Linked DNA regions of Homo sapiens: regions 1, 2, 4, 5 and 6 are each linked to region 3. Evidence: promoter capture Hi-C in 16 types of primary human blood cells and fetal thymus (Javierre and others, 2016). All regions are on one chromosome and are shown on one strand. The core of a region is centred on a gene start or on the middle of the fragment in contact, and the rest is flanking DNA. Distances in the headings are between cores, read along the strand shown.

What was found. The method cuts DNA at HindIII sites, captures the fragments that hold promoters and counts their contacts. A CHiCAGO score of 5 or more calls a contact.
Region 1: a fragment that was not itself captured here is called in contact with the fragment with the promoter of SFSWAP in region 3 in 1 of 17 cell types (neutrophils); the score reaches 7.4 in neutrophils.
Region 2: a contact is called between a fragment that was not itself captured here and the fragment with the promoter of SFSWAP in region 3, in 1 of 17 cell types (neutrophils). The highest score is 9.0, in neutrophils.
Region 4: a contact is called between a fragment that was not itself captured here and the fragment with the promoter of SFSWAP in region 3, in 1 of 17 cell types (neutrophils). The highest score is 10.6, in neutrophils.
Region 5: a contact is called between a fragment that was not itself captured here and the fragment with the promoter of SFSWAP in region 3, in 1 of 17 cell types (neutrophils). The highest score is 5.7, in neutrophils.
Region 6: a contact is called between a fragment that was not itself captured here and the fragment with the promoter of SFSWAP in region 3, in 1 of 17 cell types (neutrophils). The highest score is 5.4, in neutrophils.

Annotation. Positions count from the first base shown.
Region 1 is chr12:132,003,338-132,006,801 of GRCh38, forward strand. EP400 (E1A binding protein p400) reads left to right here. Exons shown (of 53, transcript NM_015409.5): 13 at 1,740-1,847; 14 at 2,775-2,965; 15 at 3,363-3,464. Among named protein-coding and RNA genes, the nearest start is that of SNORA49, 26 kb to the right of the region's middle. RefSeq lists an enhancer at 2,457-3,464. The HindIII fragment of the contact is 1,876 bases long and covers 1,101-2,976 here.
Region 2 is chr12:132,019,428-132,023,206 of GRCh38, forward strand. EP400 (E1A binding protein p400) reads left to right here. Exons shown (of 53, transcript NM_015409.5): 22 at 622-791; 23 at 1,652-1,894. Among named protein-coding and RNA genes, the nearest start is that of SNORA49, 9.9 kb to the right of the region's middle. The HindIII fragment of the contact is 2,299 bases long and covers 1,000-3,298 here.
Region 3 is chr12:131,709,113-131,712,603 of GRCh38, forward strand. It overlaps SFSWAP (splicing factor SWAP), which reads left to right and starts at 1,978. Exons shown (of 18, transcript NM_004592.4): 1 at 1,978-2,335. The coding sequence starts at 2,118. RefSeq lists enhancers at 1,533-1,622, 1,763-2,052, 2,143-2,212. The HindIII fragment of the contact is 11,852 bases long and covers 513-3,491 here.
Region 4 is chr12:132,073,684-132,077,289 of GRCh38, forward strand. It overlaps EP400 (E1A binding protein p400), which reads left to right. Exons shown (of 53, transcript NM_015409.5): 52 at 2,833-2,910. Among named protein-coding and RNA genes, the nearest start is that of SNORA49, 44 kb to the left of the region's middle. The HindIII fragment of the contact is 1,529 bases long and covers 1,074-2,602 here.
Region 5 is chr12:132,097,676-132,101,398 of GRCh38, forward strand. It overlaps the pseudogene EP400P1. Among named protein-coding and RNA genes, the nearest start is that of DDX51, 45 kb to the right of the region's middle. The HindIII fragment of the contact is 1,405 bases long and covers 1,572-2,976 here.
Region 6 is chr12:132,051,633-132,055,266 of GRCh38, forward strand. It overlaps EP400 (E1A binding protein p400), which reads left to right. Exons shown (of 53, transcript NM_015409.5): 42 at 1,514-1,592; 43 at 1,711-1,965; 44 at 3,342-3,387; 45 at 3,467-3,576. Among named protein-coding and RNA genes, the nearest start is that of SNORA49, 22 kb to the left of the region's middle. The HindIII fragment of the contact is 6,897 bases long and covers 1-3,634 here.

The DNA.
Region 1 (3,464 bases), core at 789-3,288, 290 kb after region 3:
TAGAGATTATTTAAAATATATGAGAGGATGTGTATAGGTTACGTGCAAATATACATTACTTTATATAAGGGACTTGAGCATCCTTGGATTTTGGTATCGAAAGGGGCCTTGGAACCACCTTCTCAGGGATACTGAGGGACGACTGTATTTAATTTTCTGTCTAAACAGGTTTTTTTTTCTTCGATTTCATTTTCTAACTCATTTCCATATGTGGAGGCTGATTTCTGTGTATTGTTTGTTCTGAGACACCTTACAGAATTATCTTCTTACTGGAAGTTTCCAGTGGTTTGGCTTGTTTTTCCTACTTACATATAGCATCATATGCTGTAGTGGTGCATCCCAGCATTTCGCTCTGGAAGCATCAGACAGACAGGAAAGGTGAAGAACCTTGTTAGGAACATCATGGACACACCACCTGAATTCCACAGCCAACACTTACTTTCACTGGGCTCCATTAGGTCTATGTCCATCAAGCCAGTGTGGCAAATATTTAACATCCTGAGCAAATGAATTCAAAAAGTGTTTTGCTAGTCCCAAGTGGACAGTGCCTTTAACATGGTCCTTGTAGGGTGCTTGTCCATGGCATTTGTTGTTTTGGCTCAACAGTCTTTGACATAAAATACAGATGCAAACAAGCTCACATATCACAAGTACACAGCCCAACTAAAGGGTTTTCCCCTGTTAGATCTACCACTGTGTGAACATTCTTTGAACAGAAATCTGGGTTCACATTTCTGTCATTCCTCTGGATAGACTCACTAAAAGGGGAAATGATGAGGTTGAGGGCATTGGATTCCAAAGCCCTTCAGCTTTCCGTGTTGATTTCCAGAAAAATCCAGCCAGTTTATGCCATTATCAGCAGCATGTGGGAGTATCTAATTCATAATAATTTCCCAGTGTTATGATTTTAAGGTGGTTGATAATTTGGTACTTAACAAATTGTGCACTGATTTCCAGGGATGATTAATGAAAAAACATTTTATTGCCCTTTACACTTTTATGTATGTAACAGCTTCATATCCTTTGCCCACTGTTATTGGGGATTTAATTAATGTGTGGTATTTTTTTTTAAGCAATTAGGGTGAGTGTTTTATAAAAAAAGCTTAATTATGTTTTATTATACTTTTTAACATTTTTGCTTTTTGTTTCTTCATTTGATATTTTGTATTTTTATATATCATCTTCATCAGTTATTTCCTATCAATGGTGTTCACTTTTTACATTTTTATTTATTAGTCTATACTGTTACTGTTCATTTAGATTATTTCAGATATTTTAAATCTTTTGTGAATACAATTGAGTTTCTTTCAAAGATTCTCATCTTTATAGAGAAAATATTTTATACTTTTAAAAATTTGCATAAATTTCAGGGGTGCAAGTACAGTGCTGTTTCCTGGCTGTACTGTGTAGTGGTGAAGTCTGGGTCTCTGGTATGTCATGACCCAAATGTGTGTTGCACCTACTAAGTAATTTCTCATCATTCCCCTTGCATCCCCCAACAAAATATTTTACACCTTTTATCAGTAATGGGCAACCATTTTAGTTTTTAGAAAAAACAAGTGTGCTTTTAGACAATATAATCTTTTTCCAAGGAGTGATCTAAAGCTGGAAAAAGGAATACATGTGAGAGGGAGCCCCTTGCCCTTCTTACCGTGGTTCTCCTGGCTGCTGCTCCTTCCCAATTTAAATTACAGTTGTTGTTATAAAGTAACAGCCCTTCTGCCCGCAACCCTCTGCAGCTGAGCTGCCCCTCCTGGACCTGATGAAGCTGTACGAAGGCGCCTTCCTGCCGAGTTCTCAGTGGCCCCGGCCGAAGCCTGATGGGGAGGACACAAGCGGAGAGGAAGGTGCGCTCCCAGCCTTTGGAAGAATTCAGGGTTAAAAGCAGAAGCCGGAGTACTTACAAAGACTTAAAATAAGATTTAGAAAATTTCTTTTAGTTTGATAAAATAAAAAATTAGAAATATTTAATAAGTATCTTTATATTGAATAGAATTTTATTAAATTCCGTGCTTTTAATTTATTAACCTGGCACAGTTATCGGGGCACTTGATCATGTTGTGAAGGATGTAAAAATATTTTTCTCTAGATTTATAAACATCATTGTTTTATGGACCTAGATATATTTATTCAGGCTGTGCTGTGTTTGTTCAACACACCAGTTTTGAGTAGTTTATTTTACTTGGTATTAGACTTTCTAAACAGATGCACAGAGCATACCAGAAAAGGTCTGCCTTTCCTGCTCTCATTCCAGTTGTTGGGACAGTTAGACACCTGCATGCGAGTTGGGGAGTGGCCCACAGGAGCCTTGGGGAGGTCAGGCCTTACCAGACCCCACGCTGCCAGCAGGACCAGAGGAAGGAGTGGCGGGTTTGGTCTCCTCCCGGTTTCCCACATTTGGGAAAGGGTTCTGCTTTTTTCTTTCTTGGTGATAGACGGGAGATCCCTAAACCCTGAGACACCTACATGTATCTCTCTGTGATACCAGCTCCTAATTGCTATGGAGACATTTTCCAAAATGCCAGACTATTTGGGGCAAATTATACTCTTGGAGGGCTTTCCAGAATGGTCCTTGGTTTGATAGTTTCATGAGAGTTCTCTCCCATTTATCCAGGTAGCATTGTTAGATATTTTGGATTACAAATAAAAAATTATTGCCTAATTCAGTATTTAAAGTAGTTGGATTCTATAAACTTTTTCCTGTTTTAAAAAAAGGTTTAGATTTATAAAGCCTTCTCAGTGGCCCTCACTTCTCTGTTTTATTGTCGTTACAGATGCAGATGACTGTCCAGGCGACAGGGAGAGTCGCAAGGACTTGGTTCTCATCGACTCGCTTTTCATCATGGATCAGTTCAAAGCTGCCGAGAGGATGAATATCGGGAAGCCAAACGCCAAGGACATTGCGGACGTCACTGCGGTGGCTGAAGCCATCCTGCCGAAGGGCAGTGCTCGGGTCACAACCTCGGTGAGGCGCTAAGCTTTCAAGTGTGGGATGGGCCTTTGAGAGACAGAGCACATAGCTTAGCCATGAGAAAAGCTTTTCCTCTTCCCAGTGAAATGGTCTATCCCAACTGCAGAGTTGTCAGAAAAAGCAATTCTTCATGTGCCTGTAGTCCCAGCTACTCAGGAGGGTGAGGCAAGAGGATTGCTTAAGGCCAGATGTTCAGGCGTTCAAGACCAGCTTGGGTGACCTAGCGAGACTCGATCTCCAAAAGAAGCAATTCTTCCTCTTCCTGTTTTCTGTAGATCATTTTTGTGGCTTTCTAATTGGTTTATCATGTGACTGTTGATTTCAGTTTTGAGAAAAAGTTTGGGTGATTATTTTGACGAGCTGTCATTCTTTTATTTGTTCATCACTGCAGGTCAAGTTTAATGCTCCATCTTTGTTGTATGGGGCTCTCAGAGATTATCAGAAGATTGGCCTGGACTGGCTGGCCAAACTTTACAGGAAGAATCTCAATGGC
Region 2 (3,779 bases), core at 899-3,398, 310 kb after region 3:
GCACAGTGGCTCATGCCTGTAATCCCAGTGCTTTGGGAAGCCAAGCTGGCGGGATTGCTTGAGCCCAGGAGTTGGAGACCAGCCTGGGCAACATTGGGAGACCCTGTCTCTCCAAAAAAAAAAATCAAATCCAGGCGTGGTGGTGCACACCTGTATTCCTAGCTACTTAGAGGCTGAGGCAAGAGGATTGCTTGAAGCCGGGAGTTTGAGGCAACAGTGAACCATCACTTGAACGGCTGCTTGATCAGACTTTTGTCAAGTTGATGTTTCTCCTCACTCCCCTCAGCCCTTGTGCTGTAATAGATGCGTTGTTTTCTATCTACATTGATATGATTGTGAAAGTTAAAACAGCATTCACCCTTGTATTCCCAGGAATCTGGGTGGATGTACCATACCACTTTGGTGTACTTAGTCTTGTTAGCCACTGCGCCCGGGCCCGGGGTGAGCTTACCTAGAGCAGTACTTAGGCATCTTTCCCCTTCCCTCTGTAAACTGCACTCTGGGTGCTGGTCCCTGAGCTGGCTTCCTATGGGCAGCGGTGAACCCCGGCTCCATGAGGTGGCCTGTCCTCTCTGTGGTCTGATGCTCTGTATCTTCTTGCCTGGACCAATGGGCATCTAGGTTGTTTCAGCCTGTGCAGTATGGCCAGAAGCCCGAGGGTCGCACCGTGGCTTTCCCCAGCACTCACCCGCCCCGGACGGCAGCCCCCACCACGGCCTCTGCTGCTCCACAGGGCCCGCTTCGAGGACGGCCGCCCATCGCCACGTTCTCTGCCAATCCGGAGGCAAAAGGTAGACTTCACGTAGTTGTCTGCTCTCCGCCTTATGGAGGTTTTTGTGGGACAAGTTCATGGCACTTTCTTCTCGCGCCTCTGGATGCGGTAATTGTCCCTGAGTGGGAACAGGCACCACCCGCTGGCTTTCTGAAGGTGCCTTGTTTAGTTCTTGATGAGTTTTAGACTTTTTGATGGCTTGTAATGGATGTTTTCCCTATTGAAGAAGCTTCACTCCTAGGTGATAAGTGTTGATCTGATGCTCACAGCCACTGGGCAGGCTGTTTCTGTTGACAGAGGTGCGTGCGTGCAGTCGTCTAGGAGACTCCTGAGAACGTCTGCTCATATTGTATTTTGTGCTGTCACTTGAACTTAATTATTCTTTTGAGGAAGGGTAGAGTAGAAAAGGCCATCAAAAGAGTTAAAAGTAGTATTTCACCACCTGGCCAAAGGGGCCCTCCACGCCATGTCCATCCAGGTTTTCTGAGCTAAAAATAAATGCTCAGACCTGCATTGTTGCCAGCATTCTCTATAGAAATATGAGTGGAAGCTCTGTTGATGTTTTCTTTGTGTGTTTAGGAAATAGTTTCTAATTGATACTAATGTTTGGTTGGGCTGACTTCTAACAGTTTCTGTTTACTCTGAGAAATGTACCGCGTAGCGTACTGTAGCTCGAAGTGAAGATAATTATCAACAAGTAAAATTATATTTCTCTCACCCTGTAAACTATATGGCCCCTCTTTTTTTCCTTAAGAGGGGACTTCTCATTTGAGAGACGGTGTGAAATGTTTATTTTATTTCTTTAAAATTCAGTTTAAAATATTGTATTTTATTAAGAACCTCTAACAGCTTTGCACAAACAAACCTTATCGATTGCAGCAGCAGCAGCCCCGTTTCAGACCTCTCAGGCTTCCGCCAGTGCTCCACGACACCAGCCCGCCTCGGCCTCCAGCACAGCCGCTAGCCCGGCCCATCCTGCGAAACTGCGGGCCCAGACCACAGCACAGGCCTCCACCCCAGGCCAGCCCCCGCCCCAGCCCCAGGCCCCCTCGCACGCGGCCGGGCAGAGCGCGCTGCCTCAGAGGCTGGTGCTCCCCTCGCAGGCCCAGGCCCGCTTGCCCAGTAAGTGGCCTCACCTTTCCAGGTTTCTGCCATCTCTCTACCCCAGAGGAGTTGTGTTAAGAACACGGGGATGTAGGAGGAGCCTTGCTGTCCACTCCTTTGTCTTTCCCCAGCCCCATGCCCGGTGCTGCCTCTCACCAGTGCAGCTGCCTCCGGCATGAGTCTAGCAGGGAGCGCCTCTGTGGAGGCCACATCCGGCCTTCTCCTGTCTGTGCTCTCTCTCCTGACCCCGCCATCCAGCTCTGCTTTTCTGCTGCACTCACTCACTGCTTTGGTGCTGTGGACGGCACTTCCCAGTGTTAGCCCCGGCCTTGTTCCACCAGCCACACAGGTGCACTCTGGGGGAGCAGATGCTCCTAGAGTGACAGCGACTGCATTTGGGAAGGTCGCTTCCTTGCCAGTCATGTGAACTAGCTTTAGGTTCCTAAAAAACATTAGCTCTTTTTAGTCTCTCGCCTGTTACCAAATTTAAACTTGGGATTGCTCAACCAAGATAACTTGTAATAATTTATGACTTAAAAAACACAGTTATTAATTTTTTTAATACAGAACATTTTGCTGTGTCCAGTGGGATTAGTATGTTTTCAAACCTTACATGTACCCTATTCATTCTGTGGTGGAAATTATCCTGACTTAAAGTATTATGTTATTTCTCAAGTGCCACCTCAACTCCTTTTGTTGTTGGTATAGCCAAATTATGTGGAGGCCTTTCTGGAAAGATGCAGATGGGAGAGGGAGTGATGCACAGAGACACTTGAGTTCAAACTAATTCTCTTTCCTTACAAGTCTCTCTCTCCCATTGCCCAAAAATAAAGAGGAATTGTCCTAGTTAAGTGCCCTAAGGGAGAAAGCAGTTGCATATTTTACATCTTCATCAAACTAGACACTGTCTTGCGTGGGATGAGAGTCATGTTGGTGGTTGCCAGAGGAGCTGTTCTTTGGGAGATCTGTGAAGTGAGCAAAACTGCTTTTCCTGTGGGTCGGTCCTCACCTGTGTATGGAACAAGGAGGATTGTTGAGAGATTGACACTTCTATGCACAAATCTCTGTCTTCTGTTTTCATTTTCCCCTCCTTGTTCACGGTTATTCTGTGGGCAAGATATCTCTAGACATTTTTCTAGCCTCTTACTAACTATTCTTTTTATCATATCACTAATAATTCTGGCATGGATTTCTCGGGAAGAACATTTAGATTCAAGTATCAACCATTGGGAAATAAGTCTTTAAACCTGTTGTTCAGTTGTAGCCGGAAGGTAGTACCTTTTTGAGTTGGGGGCAAATGACCACATCTGAGTTATGTTTTTTCAAAAAAAGTGTTTTAAGCAACGCTAAGTTTTACTTTTTTTTTTTTTAAACAGTAAATGTTATAGATTGACGCTTACCATCTAATTCAAATTAGTATGAAGCTTTATATCTTAAAGCTTTATTTATGTATGTGATTTCTTTATGTATCTAGAGGCATTGCTAGATCTTGTAGACACCGTGGCTCACACCTGTAGGCCCAGCTGCTTGGGAGGCTGAGGTGGGAGGATCGCTTGAACCCAGGAGTTTGAGGCTGCAGTGAGCTATAATCCTGCTACTGCCCTCCAGCTTGGGTGACAGCCAGACCCTGTCTCTCACAAAATAAATAAAAATACATTCTTAGATTTTGAAGAGTTATGGGTGTAATTGAAGCTAGTTATTTTTTTATATTTGTAAAGATATAATCTCTCTTTGTGAGCTAAATTGGACAGGTACTTTTCACATTTTTAAAGTTCTCTAAAGTTTAGGTTCATATGTGAGTTTCCAAGTGTATTACAAATACATTTCTGCTTTTTTTTTTTTTTTGGAGATGGAGTTTCACTCTTGTTGCCCAGACTGGGGTGCAATGGCCTGATCTTAGTTC
Region 3 (3,491 bases), core at 728-3,227:
AGAACTGGAACAGAGCCTGGGCTACTTCAGCCAGTCCCTCCCTATCTCAGGATGTTGCATCCCAGCTCGTTATGCAGTTACTCTTGAAAACTACAAAGGAAAAGGAGGGAGAAGTGGGTAGGCCCAAGGCTATACAGAGAACTGTCCTGCACAATGAAGCACCTGCATCTGTTTAGTCACTGTTCCCAGAGGTCATCATTGAGGGAATAGGGGGGCCTTCAGATCCCATTTCTGACACCAGAACTGTTAAAAGAGAAACTTTACACAAAACAAATTCGAGTTTATTCGAGCAAGAAAACAATTCATGAATCAGGCAGCATGCAGAAGCAGAAGAGGTTCAGAGAGTTCCACTCAGCAGCATGAGCAGCAAGCTTTTATAGACCCAACACGGAAGCAGAAAAATTACTTGATTGGGTTTTGGTTTGCTTGCATAGGAGCTGGTGTTACAGAGTTGATCTCAAGCTAATGGCCTCCTTATTTGCTTTAGCACCCCACACCTGAACCCAAGGGAAAGCTTGAAGGGAGCCCAGCACCGAAACAAACTAGTAAATGCCTGGGGGCAAACAACAGTGTTTTTATCAAGTAACCATGACACATACATCTTCCTCAGCAGTGGCAGAGCAGTCTTGTAGAGTTAGATAGGAAGATGATGGCCTGGCCACGCATGCTCAGCTGCTGGCCCGGCTCATTCTACAGGTATTAACCAGTATTTGGCCCACAGTGTGCTAAGCACCATTCTAGGTGCTGAGGATGCTAAGGTGACCCCAACAATGTCCCTGATCTCTTAAAGCTAATTCTGGTGGGATGCTGAACACAGGATGTAACCTAAGGTGGTGATGAGAGGTACACAGACAAATCGGAAGGCACAAGTTAGCCACCAGTGAGGGGAAACTCCAGACAACGTAGACACATAAGGCCAGGTGGAGAAATGGATGACTGAGTTAAACTTGGGTAAGGAGCCTGGCAAATGAAGACAGAAGCATGACCCAGTCAGGGGAAACCACAACAAAAGACGTTTGGTGGGAACTGCCTGTTTCTTAATTTCCAAAAATCAGTTAAAGGTTCATATACATTATCTCATTTCAACATCACTGGTAGAAAGATTCCATTTTTATGGAGAGGGGATCTGAGGCCCAGAAAGGAGACGATCTGTCATCGTTTTCCACTCAAGGGCAAACATGGGGATATCCCATCCCATCCCAAAGCCTAAGATTTTGCACTCCAGGCCCTTTGTCTGACCTGAAATTACTGAGCTAAAAGGGACCGAAAGATCCTAATGGAACCACCGATGGGAAAACTGCGGCCCAGGAGGAAACACACCAAGCAAAATTGCACCGTATCCAGGTGGCCAGTCTCCAGACTGGGGTCTCCCTGCCCCGCCAGACCATCTCCCGGCGACAAGGGTCTCAGGTTTCCGAAATCTCGCCACCCGCGAGTGATTTGCAGCGCAGGGGCCTCTGCTGCCTCGGAAACCTTCAAAGGTGGGCGGGTCGGGGACCAAGTCCCCCTAGGGATGGAGAAGGAAACGGGGCCAAGGAAAAGGACATCGCCACCCTGGGCAGAGCACGCACGGCCCCAGCGACTCGGACATGGTGAGGGGCGCGGAGGCTCGGGGTGGACCCGAGGCCTCCACACATGTGGCAGGCTGCAGCAACCCGCCACCCACGAGGACTCGCCCAAGGCCCAGAGCGCGCCGGGCCCCTCCCTCCGACTCCGTCGCCGCCCGACTGGCCGCAGCGGAAGCCGGCGCGCGATCCCACGCTGCGCTTTCGCCACGTCCTGACGGCTGCCCGATAAAACGGACATTAAAATTGCACTTTCCACTGAATACAGCAGCGCCTATTGTGGCGGCACACCTGAATGCGAAAATTAAAGCCAAAATATTTCCTAGCGGCTAAAAGAGCTCCAAGCCTAGGCGAATCTGCCGGTCCGCTCGCCGGAAATGCGGGCTCTCCTGCCGGAAGCTGCCCCTCCACCATTTTGTGGCCCGCTATGGCGGCGGTGTTGAGGTTGGGTACGGGATGCGGGGTCTTTGACTGAAGGGGTAGGCCAAGTGGAGGTATCAGGGACGTCGCGCGGCACAGAAGAGGACCAGCCTGGACGCCGGGGACGCTGTCATGTACGGCGCGAGCGGGGGCCGCGCCAAACCCGAGAGGAAAAGCGGCGCGAAGGAGGAGGCCGGGCCAGGCGGTGCCGGCGGTGGGGGCAGCCGAGTGGAGCTCTTGGTTTTCGGCTATGCCTGCAAGCTGTTCCGGGACGACGAGCGGGCCCTGGCTCAGGAACAGGGACAGCACCTCATCCCCTGGATGGGGGACCACAAGATCCTCATCGACAGGTCGGTTCCTCTCCCCACCCGTCGATCCTTCCCTTCCCTCACCCGCTTGATCTCGTCTGATGTTGACTTGACTGCAAGGACTGCAGAGAGTTTTCTGGAGCCAGCGGGGATCTGGGGGACACCCCCTCCCCTGTCCCCACCTCCTCCTGGTGTTCTGGTGGGGAGGGGGACGGTGAAACCTGCCCTAAGGCACTGGCTGGAATTGCGTGCCGCGTCCGTCTCCGGAGGGATCGTCTCTGGTCCCGCAGCCCCTCTCGACCCCTCACCCTGTCGCTGGGCTGCAGTTGGCGATTCCGCGCGGTGAAAGCAGCCAGTGCCCAGGGTCTTTTCCTGAGTGCACCTGGGCCTGCCGCCCGGCGATGCCATGGGGTCGTGCGCTGCTTTTCTACTTGCCGCGCTCTCACTGCTCGGTGTACTGGGAGGGTACCCTGGGAGGCGTGCCTTTATTCTTCCGAACCGCCGCTCACTGAGACAGTGGCTAGAAGTGTCTCTTGGACCTGTGAGTTAGCCTTAACCTGTTATGCCCCCAGAGCCCTCAGTGGAGCGCCCGTACTTTGCCGGCATGACGTTTGATTTCCCGGTGATAATCCGACGAGTTTGACAGATTGAGGTAGTGAGCAAAGTTGCCCGTCAGTTGGTGGCCACTTGACTTCGTGCGGACCCTGGCCTTGCTCTTGGAAGAGATAGTGTTCTTAGGGCTGGTTTCACTGTCTCTTAAGACTGAAGGGTGGAGCTGGGATATAGATGTGTTGTTTCTTTTCAAATCAAACCTGCTTTAGGTCGTCACTCGAGGGTGTCTAGCGATTATGGGCAGTGGGGGCCTGGGATTAGGGATTTCTAAAGGCGTTTGATTTGAAAAGGATAACATTACATGATGTAGGTGGTTTGCTCCCCTCTTTCTTCCCATTTTTTCAATCCCCCTTCCCCTCGTCTCTGGGTTTTGGGGTTGTTGTGGGGTGGTTTTTTTTCTTTTTTGCCTGTTCGGCTACTTCTGGGGCCCGGACTGAAAAGCTAACCATGACCAACCATTAAACTGTGGAATAGTCTCTCCACGTGAAGAAAGCCCATCGTTTGAGACCATTAAAACTGGATTCTTCATAGCCCTGGAGCATGACTGTAGGGATGACCTCTGAGCTGGCCAGAATGGACACATTAA
Region 4 (3,606 bases), core at 588-3,087, 360 kb after region 3:
CTCGTGATGCACCTGCCTTGGCCTCCCAAAGTGTTGGGATTATAGGCGTGAGCCACCATGCCCAGCCATAATTCTGTCCTTTTTCATCTTTGACTTTTTATGTGGAATTACTTTCCTTCCACTTGACCCATCCTTTGGAATTTCCTTTAGTGCTTGAAAATGCCTGTGTGTCACTCTTGTTCCTGAGAGACAGTTTTGCTTAGTACAGAATTCCGGATTGGCATTGTTTTTTGGGGTTTTTTTTTTTTTTTTTTTTTTTTTTTGAGACGGAGGCTCACTCTCCCATGCTGGAGTGCAGTGGCATGATCTTGGCTCACTGCAACTTCTGTCTCCCACATTCAAGAGATTCTCCCGCCTCAGCCTCCCGAGTAGCTGGGACTACAGGCACACACCACCATGCCCAGCTAATTTTTATATTTTTAGTAGAGGTGGGGTTTCACCATGTTGGCCAGACTGGTCTCGAACACCTGACCTCAGGTGATCCACCTGCCTCGGCCTCCCAAAGTGCTGGGATTACAGGCATGAGCCACCGCGCCCGGTCGGCATTGTTTTCTGAGTGCATTCACGGTATCATTTCCTCACTGTGGCTGCTTTTGTTGTTGAAGAGGAGCCGGTGTCTGTCCAGCGTTTCTCTCTTCCAGGGTCACCTGTCTCTTCCCCACCGACTGCCTGTTATTGAGACGTTGTCTTTGTCTTTGTTGTTTTGGGTCACCTCTCTCCCCCACCGTCTGCCTGTTACTGAGACGTTGTCTTTGTCTTTGTTGTTCTGGGTCACCTCTCTCCCCCACTGTCTGCCTGTTATCGAGACGTTGTCTTTGTCTTTGTTGTTTTGCAGTTTCATTCCAATGCTCCAGCTTCTTGAATCTCGGGCAGTCTCTCTCATGTCTTTAGGAAATAAGCAGCCACTGTTTGTTTACGTGTTGCCCCTGTCCTGCTTCCTCTGCCCTCCAGGTCTCTCAGCAGCTTTTGTATTTTCTGTGTCTTTGTCTCGTCGTACTATATTCTGAGTCATGTCTTTCGCTCTGTCTCCTCAGTCACTCATTTTTCCCTTGGTTAAGTCAAATCTGCTTCAAAGCTTGTCTGTTGAATTTTTATCTTGATGATTTATTATTTTATTTTCAGAAGTTCCCAAATAATGCCTGGTCTTTGTTTATAGTCTCTTGTTTCCAGGCCTCGCAGAGTGAGTGAGGTGTTTTTCTGGATCTGGTGATTTCCCTGTCTGAAATGTGCTGCATCTGCGGGGACCCCTCGCAGCCTGGGGCAAAGGTGGAGTTTTGCTTCCGCGGGCACCTTCAGGTGCCACAGGAACACTGCTTGGTGTGTGGCTCAGGCTTTCACTCAGCTCTCAGGTGTTACCCACCTGGCCTCTGAATCTGTGTCTCCTCCTCTCTCCTCCCCGGCACTGAGGCTTAGGGCAGGTGCTTTTCTTACAGATGCCACTGGAGGAAGGGGATGCTTTCTTTGCAGCCTTTGGGTACCTTTGTGGGTACAGTGTCTCCCTCCAGGATGGCAGCTGGCAGTAGCACGGGGCTCTTTTGCAAGCTCCCCACCGAGAACTGGCCTATACCTGGTGTCTGGTCAGCTGTGTCCTGTGCGACCCTGGAGATCACGGGGTGCGTCTCCATGTGGCCAGCGATCCCGGGCAGAGGTTGTGCAGCTTTTCTGCTCCGTGACTCGTGATGCCCGCCTGTGCTTAGGTTTGGAGACTGGCAGTTCCTGACTCTTTGCAGGTTTCTTGGTACATTTAAGATTTCTTGCTAGTGCTTTATTTAAGACGTCTCAGGATTTTCAGTGCTGTGCCAAGTAAGTCCTGGACCATTGTGGTCTTGAGATGGGCCCTGGAGCACCGGCTGCATCTTTGTTTCCCAGCAGTTCCACAGGGGGCGCTCAGGGCACTTATCTTAGTGAATTTTATTTATAATTGTTTAAGTGACAGTAAACTAGTAAATGCCTTCTGATTGATTTTAATTTTAGTAAGGACTAACATTTATTTCGACCTTTGTTCATGTGTGAGTAAATCATGTAATTTCACATATTTCGCAGAATAATCTTGGGAAATATTATTTTCATCCGTTTTCTGTAAGTAACAGGACCCAGCAAGAGACCAGGGTCCGTGAGGGCCTTGTGCAGGGAGGGCCCTTGAAATCAGGGCCCCCAGCAGCTGCCCACGCTGGAGCCTCTCTTGTGTTCTGGGTGCACGCCATGACGGTGCTGATAGGACACACAGGTGGCCCAGAGCCTCTTACTACGTCAAGACAGCGGGAGATGCATGCAGTAGCAAGTGCACAGAAAGTGGGCACTGGGTGGAAAGTGTTGCTTTATAAATAGCCAGATCTCAATCATGACTAAGAAGAATGTAGAAAAATGATAAAATTACCAGCCTCAAAACCTTGGTGCGTCACCGGGTTCCCCACTTCAGCTGGCTGCCCTAGCTGCACTGTACAGCTCATTACTGGAACGTCGTCCAGGCCTGTCATATGCAGAGCCCTTGGGACTCACAAGACGCTCAAATACTTACCATCCTCAGTCTGATTCTTTCATATAAACTTGCAGTCGTTTTTGTGAAAAGAAAAAATGTGTCTGAAATATGAGACCAAAAATAAGCTTAAATGATGAGTGATGGCAAATTGGGGAGGCAGTCAGTTGACTCACCATGCAGTGGAACGACTTGCTCTCTCACTGCTGCAGGTGGGCACACTACGAGAATTGCTCTTCTGTGTCACCTGGTCATTGTGTTTTTTGCATTAACTGAGGACAGAAAGGGAGGAAAAATCTCTTTTTGTGCACATACTCCTTTGAATTGTATGTTTGGCTTTTTTTGTTTTGTCAAAGGTTGCAAAACTTCCTCAAGTTGTTCAACAGCAAACACCCGTGGCCAGCATCCAGCAAGTTGCCTCTGCTTCCCAGCAGGTAGGACGCATAGACAAAGTGGAAACCTCACATTTCCCAGGTCAGAGAATGGGTTGTTTTCATCTGAGGTCATGATTAGGGAATCACTTTTGATTTTTGTGATACACACAAAAACATTAACTTCAGGGGAAAAACTAGATACACTTAATAATGAGAAGAGTGAACAAGCGTTTAGAGGTTGTGTCAGCCATACTGAGGGAGCCTCACCTTGGGCTCATTCCCAGGACCCTTCATTCACTGATCATCGCGGGTGTGTCCTGCAAGTCGCAGACACTGCCCTGTGGTTTTAGGGAGGCACAGGCCTCAGGCAAGCAGGCTCCGCTCGGGGCCCGCCCTTGAGCAGAGGCGCTGTGGGCACAGTGGCCTTGCCTCCCACAGAAGCCCTTCAGGCGCTTTCACTGTTGTCACTGATGCTCCACAATATGACTCTTTAGCACAGTGCTTTAAATGTAAAGCGGTGCTTTAAACTTTCTAAATTTTGTTTAAAGTCACACTGGCATATAGATTTCAAGAAACCAAACTCTATTAAAAGCTTTACTACAACAACAAAATCAGTCCCTGACCCAGCTCTCACCCTTTTCCCAAGAGGCATCTGGTGTTAGTCTAAAAGCAACCATCTTTTAATTTTCCACTTGTGTTTAATTGGAAACCAGAGGTCATACTGTTGTGTGACTGGTCATTCTTCCGTGTCATAAA
Region 5 (3,723 bases), core at 1,024-3,523, 390 kb after region 3:
TATGTGAATCTATTTCTGGCATTCTGTAAGATTGTTCCATTTCCACGCTGTCTTAATTGCTGTGGCTTTATAATACACGTTAAAGTCAGGAAATCTAAATCTTTTTGTCTTTTTCATAATTTTGGCTCTTCTAGGTTCTTTGCATTTCCTTATGAACTTTAAAATCTGCTTCTCAATTTCTGTTAAAAGCCTCTTGGGGTTTTGATTGACATTACATTCAATTTTTAGATCAATTTTGGGAGAACTGACATATTAACAATACTGAGTCTTCTGATTCATGAGCACTATTAATGTCTTTAAAATTTTCTCTCTGCAGTGTTTTGTGGTTTTGATGTACAGGTCTTGCACATCTATCAGATTTATTCTTGAGTATTTTATATTTTTTGAAATAATTTTTTTTTGAGACAGGGTCTTACTCTGTCTCCCAGGCTAAAGTACAGTGGCACAATTATAGCTCGCTGCAACCTCTATCTCCTGGGCTCAAGTGATCCTCCCACTATAGTCTCCCAAGTAGCTGGGACTACAGGTGTATACCACCACCCCCAGCTAATTTTTTTTTTTCTGTGGAGATGGGGTCTTACTATGTTTCCCAGGCTGGTCTTGAATTCCTTGGTTCAAGTGATCCTTCTGCCTTGGCCTCCCAAAGTGCTGGGATTGCAGGCGTGAGCCATTGTGCCTGGCAGGATTTTCTCAGAGATGATTATTTTGCCTGAGAATGAAGGGCTTTAATCTTTTTCCCTTACAGTCTGTCTGTGTTTTATTTCTTTTTCTTGACTGACTGTGCTGCTACAATCTCCATGTTGAGTCCAAGTACTGAGAGAGGATGTCCTGTATCAGTTCGTTCTCACACCGCTATAAAGAAATACCTGAGACTGGGTAATTTATAAAGAAAACAGTTTTAATTGGCTCACGGTTCTGCAGGCTGTACAGAAAGCATGATGCTGGCATCTGCTCGGCTTCTGGGGAGGCCTCAGGAACTTACAATCTTGGCAGAAGGCAAAGGGGGAGTGAACACGATATGGCCAGAGCAGGAGTAAGAGAGAGAAGGGGAGGTGATGCACACTTTTTTTGTTTTAGACAGAGTCTCACTCCATCACCCAGGCTGGAGTGCAGTGGTGTGATATTGGCTCACTACAACCTCCGCCTCCCAGGTTCAAGCGATTCTCCTGTCTCAACCTCCTGAGTAGCTAGGATTACAGGCGTGCGCCACCACGCCTGGCTAATTTTGTATTTTTAGTAGAGACGGGGTTTTGCCAAGTTGGCCAGGCTGGTCTCGAACTCCTGACCTCAAGTGATCCACTTGCCTCGGCCTCCCAAACTGCTGGGATTACAGGCGTGAGCCACCACGCCTGGCTGGTGATACACACTTTTAAAATGACCAGATCTCATGAGAATTCACTGTTGCGACCAAGGGGGATGGTGTAACACTATGAGAAACTGCCCCCATGATCCAGTCACCTCCCATCTGGCCCTTCCTCCAACACTGGGGATCACAATTCGACATGAGGTTTGGTGGGGACACAGATCCAAACTGTATTACATCCCTTCCTTGTTTCTGTCTTAAGAGGGAAAGCTTTCAGGCTTTTACCATCGAGTATCATATTAGCTGTTGTAGCCACTGAGATTCTTTATCAGGTCGAGGAAGTTTTCTTCTTCCCAAGTTTACTATATAGAACCAGATTTTCACCTTGGATCTGTTTTCCTTATTCCTAAAGTATGTCCTTCATTTCTTGTACTGCACATCTGCTGGTGGTGAATTCTTTCAGTTTTGTACATTTGGAAAAATCTTTGTCTTTTTTCTTTCTTTTTTTTTTTTTTTTAGACTAGAGTCTCACTCTGTCACTCAGGCTGGAGTGCAGTGGCCTGATCTCAGTTCACTACAACCTCCGCCTCCCAGGGGTTCAAGCAATTCTCCTGCCTCAGCCTCCCAAGTAGCTGGGATTACAGGCGTGTGCCACCACGCCTGGCTAATTTTTGTATTTTTAGTAGAGATGGGGTTTCGCCATGTTGGCCAGGCTGGTCTCAAACTCCCGACCTCAAGTGATCCGCCTGCTTCAGCCTCCCAAAGTGCTGGGATTCACTCTAATACACTAAGTTCACTCTAATACGACGAATACGGATGAACTGCTGGTTGGCCTTCGCCTCCTCCAGCACGCGTTCTGATTGTTGCTGGCCTGCCTGCATGGCCCGGGGAGGGCTCCTCTTCCTTCTCCCTGCTGCAGCTCTGTTGTGCCCCCGGAGTATTCTGAGCCCGTTTTCTAGTTCCAGGCCTGCGTCAGTGTAGGGTGACAGGAAGGGTCCTCTGCTGCACTCCACCTCAGGAAAAGCACCGTCTGTGGAGGAGAATCTGAACTGAGGAGGAAGCCCTGCCCAGCAGCCTGGGGGCTCCCAGGGATGTCTGCTGCATGGAGACTGCAGAAACCTGTGGTGGGGCAGAGAGTTCCAGTTTGGCCGTGTGTTGACTGCCCTCATGCAGACTCTACCAGCGGCCAAAGCGGTGTCTGGAGACGACAGTGTGTGTGCCTAGGGCACACAGGCACGGAGACACCGCCAGCCCTTTGTGTTGTGATCAGGGCTGGCGGGAGGCTCTGACTAGGGCTGTGGGAAGGGGACGTGTGCACTGTCCTCTTTCTGAGCGTTGCTGTGGTGGGAGTCCTGTCACGGGGAGCAGTCATGGAAGAGGACCGGCCCCTCCTCCCAGGTACAAGCACAGGCTCCTGTGCACTCCGACTCGCTGTTCCCCTCATCTGGCCTCCCCAGAGCCCAGGCACTGCCTGCTAACCCCAGACCTTCTGTGGTCCACTTAGGACTCTTGCCCACCATTGGTCCTGCCGGCCGGCCCGCCCAGGCTGGGCTTTCTCAGGGGGACTCCAGCTGCCCTTCTGCCCCATGAGGAGACACTAGCTCCCTTGGCCTCATTCCCTTACTGGCAACTGAGGGTCTGGTTCTTAGAGTCCCTTATGTGTAAACATGTAAAGCTTGTGGCTGTGAGGTGTGTTTGGTAAGAACAGTCCACAGCTTTCACCAGATTCTCAGGAGTGTCAGTGGCCCCTTCCCGGTCAATAAGTTGAAGAGCCGGGGTCAGTCTGGCTGCCACTGAGGGCCAGGCTGCCTCCTTGTGTGCTTGGGTGGCCTGACTGCAAGGAGATGCTCTCACTCAGCCCTGGACACACGGTGCAGATGGTGTGGCGGGTCAGCCCCACAGGGCCACCTCCTCAGTCTTGGGTTCTCAGCCTCAGCTGGTTCACATTTGGGGCCAGAAGATTCCTCCTGGTGGGGCCGTGCTGTGTGTTGTAGGATGGTTAGAGACCTCCAGGCCTCTACCCACCAAATGCCAGCAGTTCTCCCACCCTTATCAGTTGTGACAACCAAAAATGCCTCCAGACATTGCCTGATGTCCCCTGCGGGCACAGTCTTCCGAAGTACAGAGCCACTGATCTATCTGATCTTAGAAAGAGACTGTAGTCATTGCATTTCCGTAGGAAAAGGTGTTCTGAGTTAGAAATAATGTACAAATAGTTTTTTGCCTTGTATCTTCTATGCACCTTCTAATTATTATTTTACTAGATTACAGTCCCTCATGTGCAAACTTTGCACACCTGGAAGAAGAGTTTACTAGTAAGCAAAAGCACTTTTTTTTTTTTTTTTTTTGAGACAGAGTCTCGCTCTGTCGCCAGGCTGGAGTGCAGTGGCACGATCTCGGCTCACTGCAAGCTCCACCTC
Region 6 (3,634 bases), core at 1,080-3,579, 340 kb after region 3:
CTAACTAAACGGCAGAGCCAGGTGTACAAGATGGAACATGAAGGCAGACTAGGAGTGTGACCACTGAAGCACAGCATCACAGGGAGACGGTTAGGCCTCCGGATAACTGCGGGCGGGCCTGACTAATGTCAGGCCCTCCACAAGAGGTGGAGGAGTAGAGTTTTCTCTAAACTCCCCTGGGGAAAGGGAGACTCCCTTTCCCGGTCCACTAAGTAGTGGGTGTTTTTCCTTGACACTAATGCTACTGCTAGACCACGGTCCGCTTGGCAGTGGGTGTCTTCCCAGACGCTGGCGTTACCGCTAGACCCAGGAGCCCTCTGGTGGCCCTGTCCGGGCATAACAGAAGGCTTGCACGCTTGTCTTCTGGTCACTTCTCACTGTGTCCTCTCAGCTCCTATCTCTGTATGGCCTGGCTTTTCCTAGGTTATGATTATAGAGCGAGGATTATTATAATATTGGAATAAAGAGTAATTGCTACCAACTAATGATTAATGATATTCATAGATAATCATATCTAAGATCTATATCTGGTATAACTATTCTTGTTTTATATTTTATTATACTGGAACAGCTCGTGTCCTTGGTCTCTTGCCTCGGCACCTGAGTGGCTTGCCGCCCACAGTTGTCACACAGTGGCGGATTTGGGAGGCTTCCTCGTTCTGTGGCCCCCTTTCCGCACAGTAGTGGAGTGATCCTTGTCAGAAGGAGTTGGCTCAGGGCCCATCTCCGCAAACCCCCAGGACTCCCTACTGCCCACGCTCTGAGTCGCCTGGCCCTGGCTTTCAGCCCCTTGGTGCTCCCTGAGTGTGCTGGCAGCCGCGCCCCAGCCCTTCACTTAACTGCCCTCGTGAGATGTTTTCAGAGCGCACTGTTGAGAATTGCAGCCCCGCCCTGCTGTTTTCCTCCATAGCAGCCAGTACGTCTTCAGACCCACTGCACATTTTACCTGTTTGTCGTCTGATGTGAGTGCTGTGATCGCTGGGACTCTAGCGTCTGGGAGCACAGACCCATCATTTGATTGATGTTGTCGATTAAATGAAGAGTTAATTCACCCTACTAATATTTATGGACCGCGGGCCTGCGCGGCGTGGAGCCTGGGCATTCTCGGGGGAGCGAGAGAGGCACAGTCCCGCCCTCCCTTTACCTCCCTGGAGAGGAACTCGAGGGCATCCTCACAGAAGGAACAGACAGAGATTTTCCCAAGTACAGTGCAGACACATGAGGTGGGCTGTGCGTTTGGGGGCTGCCACAAGTACGCTGGGGACGTGTTCGGAGATACTTTTCCTGGAGAGTGGGAGAGCTCGGCCTCAAGGAAGAGGACTCAGCGCCAGGCTGAGGATGAGGTCTAGGTGGCTCGATCTCCTGCAGGGCACATTGGGCACCTTGCTTTACGCCCTCATCTCTTGGGCTGGAGCTGCCCCAGCACCTGGCAGCATGGTGTTTCTAGGGTACGTGGTACTTGTCTGTCTTAAAACTTGCCTGTATGTTTTTAACCTTTGCGTCTGTCTTTCAGTGGAATCAACTATGACAAGCCGCTGCCTCCCATCCAGGTGGCATCTCTCCGTGCAGAGCGAATCGCAAAAGAGAAAAAGGTCAGCGCCCTGGGCCCTTCTGCTTGAGTGGGAAAATGTGGTGACTGTGACTTCATCCAGGGGGTATGCAGGCCGAGTCTGCCCCTCCAGTGGCTCCTCTTCCTTCCTGGCCCCTCAGGCTCTGGCTGATCAGCAGAAGGCACAGCAGCCGGCCGTGGCCCAGCCACCCCCGCCCCAGCCGCAGCCCCCACCACCCCCGCAGCAGCCACCGCCACCGCTGCCACAACCACAGGCAGCGGGCAGCCAGCCGCCAGCAGGGCCACCAGCTGTCCAGCCCCAACCCCAGCCACAGCCCCAGACCCAGCCACAGCCTGTGCAGGCCCCAGCGAAGGCGCAGCCCGCAATCACGACGGGGGGCAGTGCAGCCGTACTGGTGAGCAGGGGCCTCCTCCCGGGCTTCCCCTCTACGGGAAGTCACCCACACCTGCACTTGATTCAAGTGCTTTCTGTTGAAACGAAGACTTGTTGCCAGTTCTAGCACATTTCCAGCTTGTAGACCTTCCTCTGAAGAAATGGGAAAAGGCTTAGTCTCATCCCAGAGGAATTGTGTGTTTTCACCTGGATTCTGCCATTTCTCTCCTCCAGGGCTTTTGTGGGCTTAGTGGCTTTATTGGATTTGGCAGGTAGAGGCAGCTCCTTTTAGTGGAGGTGGTTGGGAAGTTTGTAATTGCCTGGGTTTTGTAAAACATACCTGTGACGCATTCACTTCCTGACTTCCTACACACTTAGAGAGCAGGTACTGCCTGTGTCGGTGTCTCAAAGCATGCCCATGTGTGCTCCCCCACACAGGTCAGTCTTTAATGCCTGTTGTAGAAAAGCTGTAAAGCACACAAGAAGCATTGTGAAAAGAAAGGCAGGGTGCGGAGCTGCGGACTGTGGCCATGCACACCACGCTCTGGTGTATCTCTGTACTGTGTGCGTCCGTGTGCCACACAGACGCTGAAATCATATGCGCAGAATCACACCTGCAGAGAATAGGAGCTGTGCCAAATTGGGGAAACCCACACTTTGGACTACCAGGCAGGCATAAAAATATTTTTGTTACATAGAACCATTTCCTGCAGTAGTTTTTAGAAAATTGTTTGCTGTAGTGGAATTTTTATATGTACTCAGGCAACTTCATTCCTCATTTATTCAAAAGGGATCTTTGTGAATACTTACTTGGTGCAAGGTGGGCAAGATGGGCAGTGCCCACATTCTGGAGCCACGTCCTACAGGGGAGGGAGGCAGCCAAAGGGATCATTTTAAATGCTGGCGGGAGGAGTCAGGGTGGCACAATGCAGGACTGGCTTGTTAGGAAACACCTTTCTGAGGACTTGGCATTTGAGCTAAGGCCTGAATGACAAGGAGTTGGTCATAAGAAGAACAAAACAGCAAGTACAGAGGCCCTGAGCTTGGCTGATATGGGGGCCAGAAAGCTCAGTGTGGCTGGACTCAGGTGGTGAGGGACAGAGGGTGGATGAATGGAGTGGAGGGACGGAGGAGTGGAGGGACAGTGGGGTGAGGGTGGAGGGACAGTGGGATGGAGGGTCCCTGGGGTGGAGGGACAATGGGATAGGGGTGGAGGGACAGCAGGTAGACAGAGGGTGGGGGCACCGCCAGGTGGAATGAGCTGGGGAGGATGGGACAGGTGGCTGTGTGAATGTCGTGGAGTTTGGATTTGATTCTGAATGAAGTGGAAGCCTTTGGAGGATTTATGCAGGGGAGAGCCTGACGTGAAATTCAAATGGATTTTTTTTTTTTAAATAGGCAGGAACCATTAAAACATCAGTTACTGGGACGAGCATGCCCACTGGTAAGACAAATACAGAGATGCTGAAATGTGGACCCCATTTCTCCTGGCGCTGTTGCCTTATGCCCGCCTGTCTCCGCAGGTGCCGTGAGTGGAAATGTGATCGTGAACACCATCGCAGGGGTCCCAGCTGCCACCTTCCAGTCCATCAACAAGCGCCTGGCGTCGCCAGTGGCTCCTGGGGCCTTGACTGTGAGTTGCGCTTCACCTGGGTTGTGCACCTTGACTGCATTCTGCCGAAATTATTTGC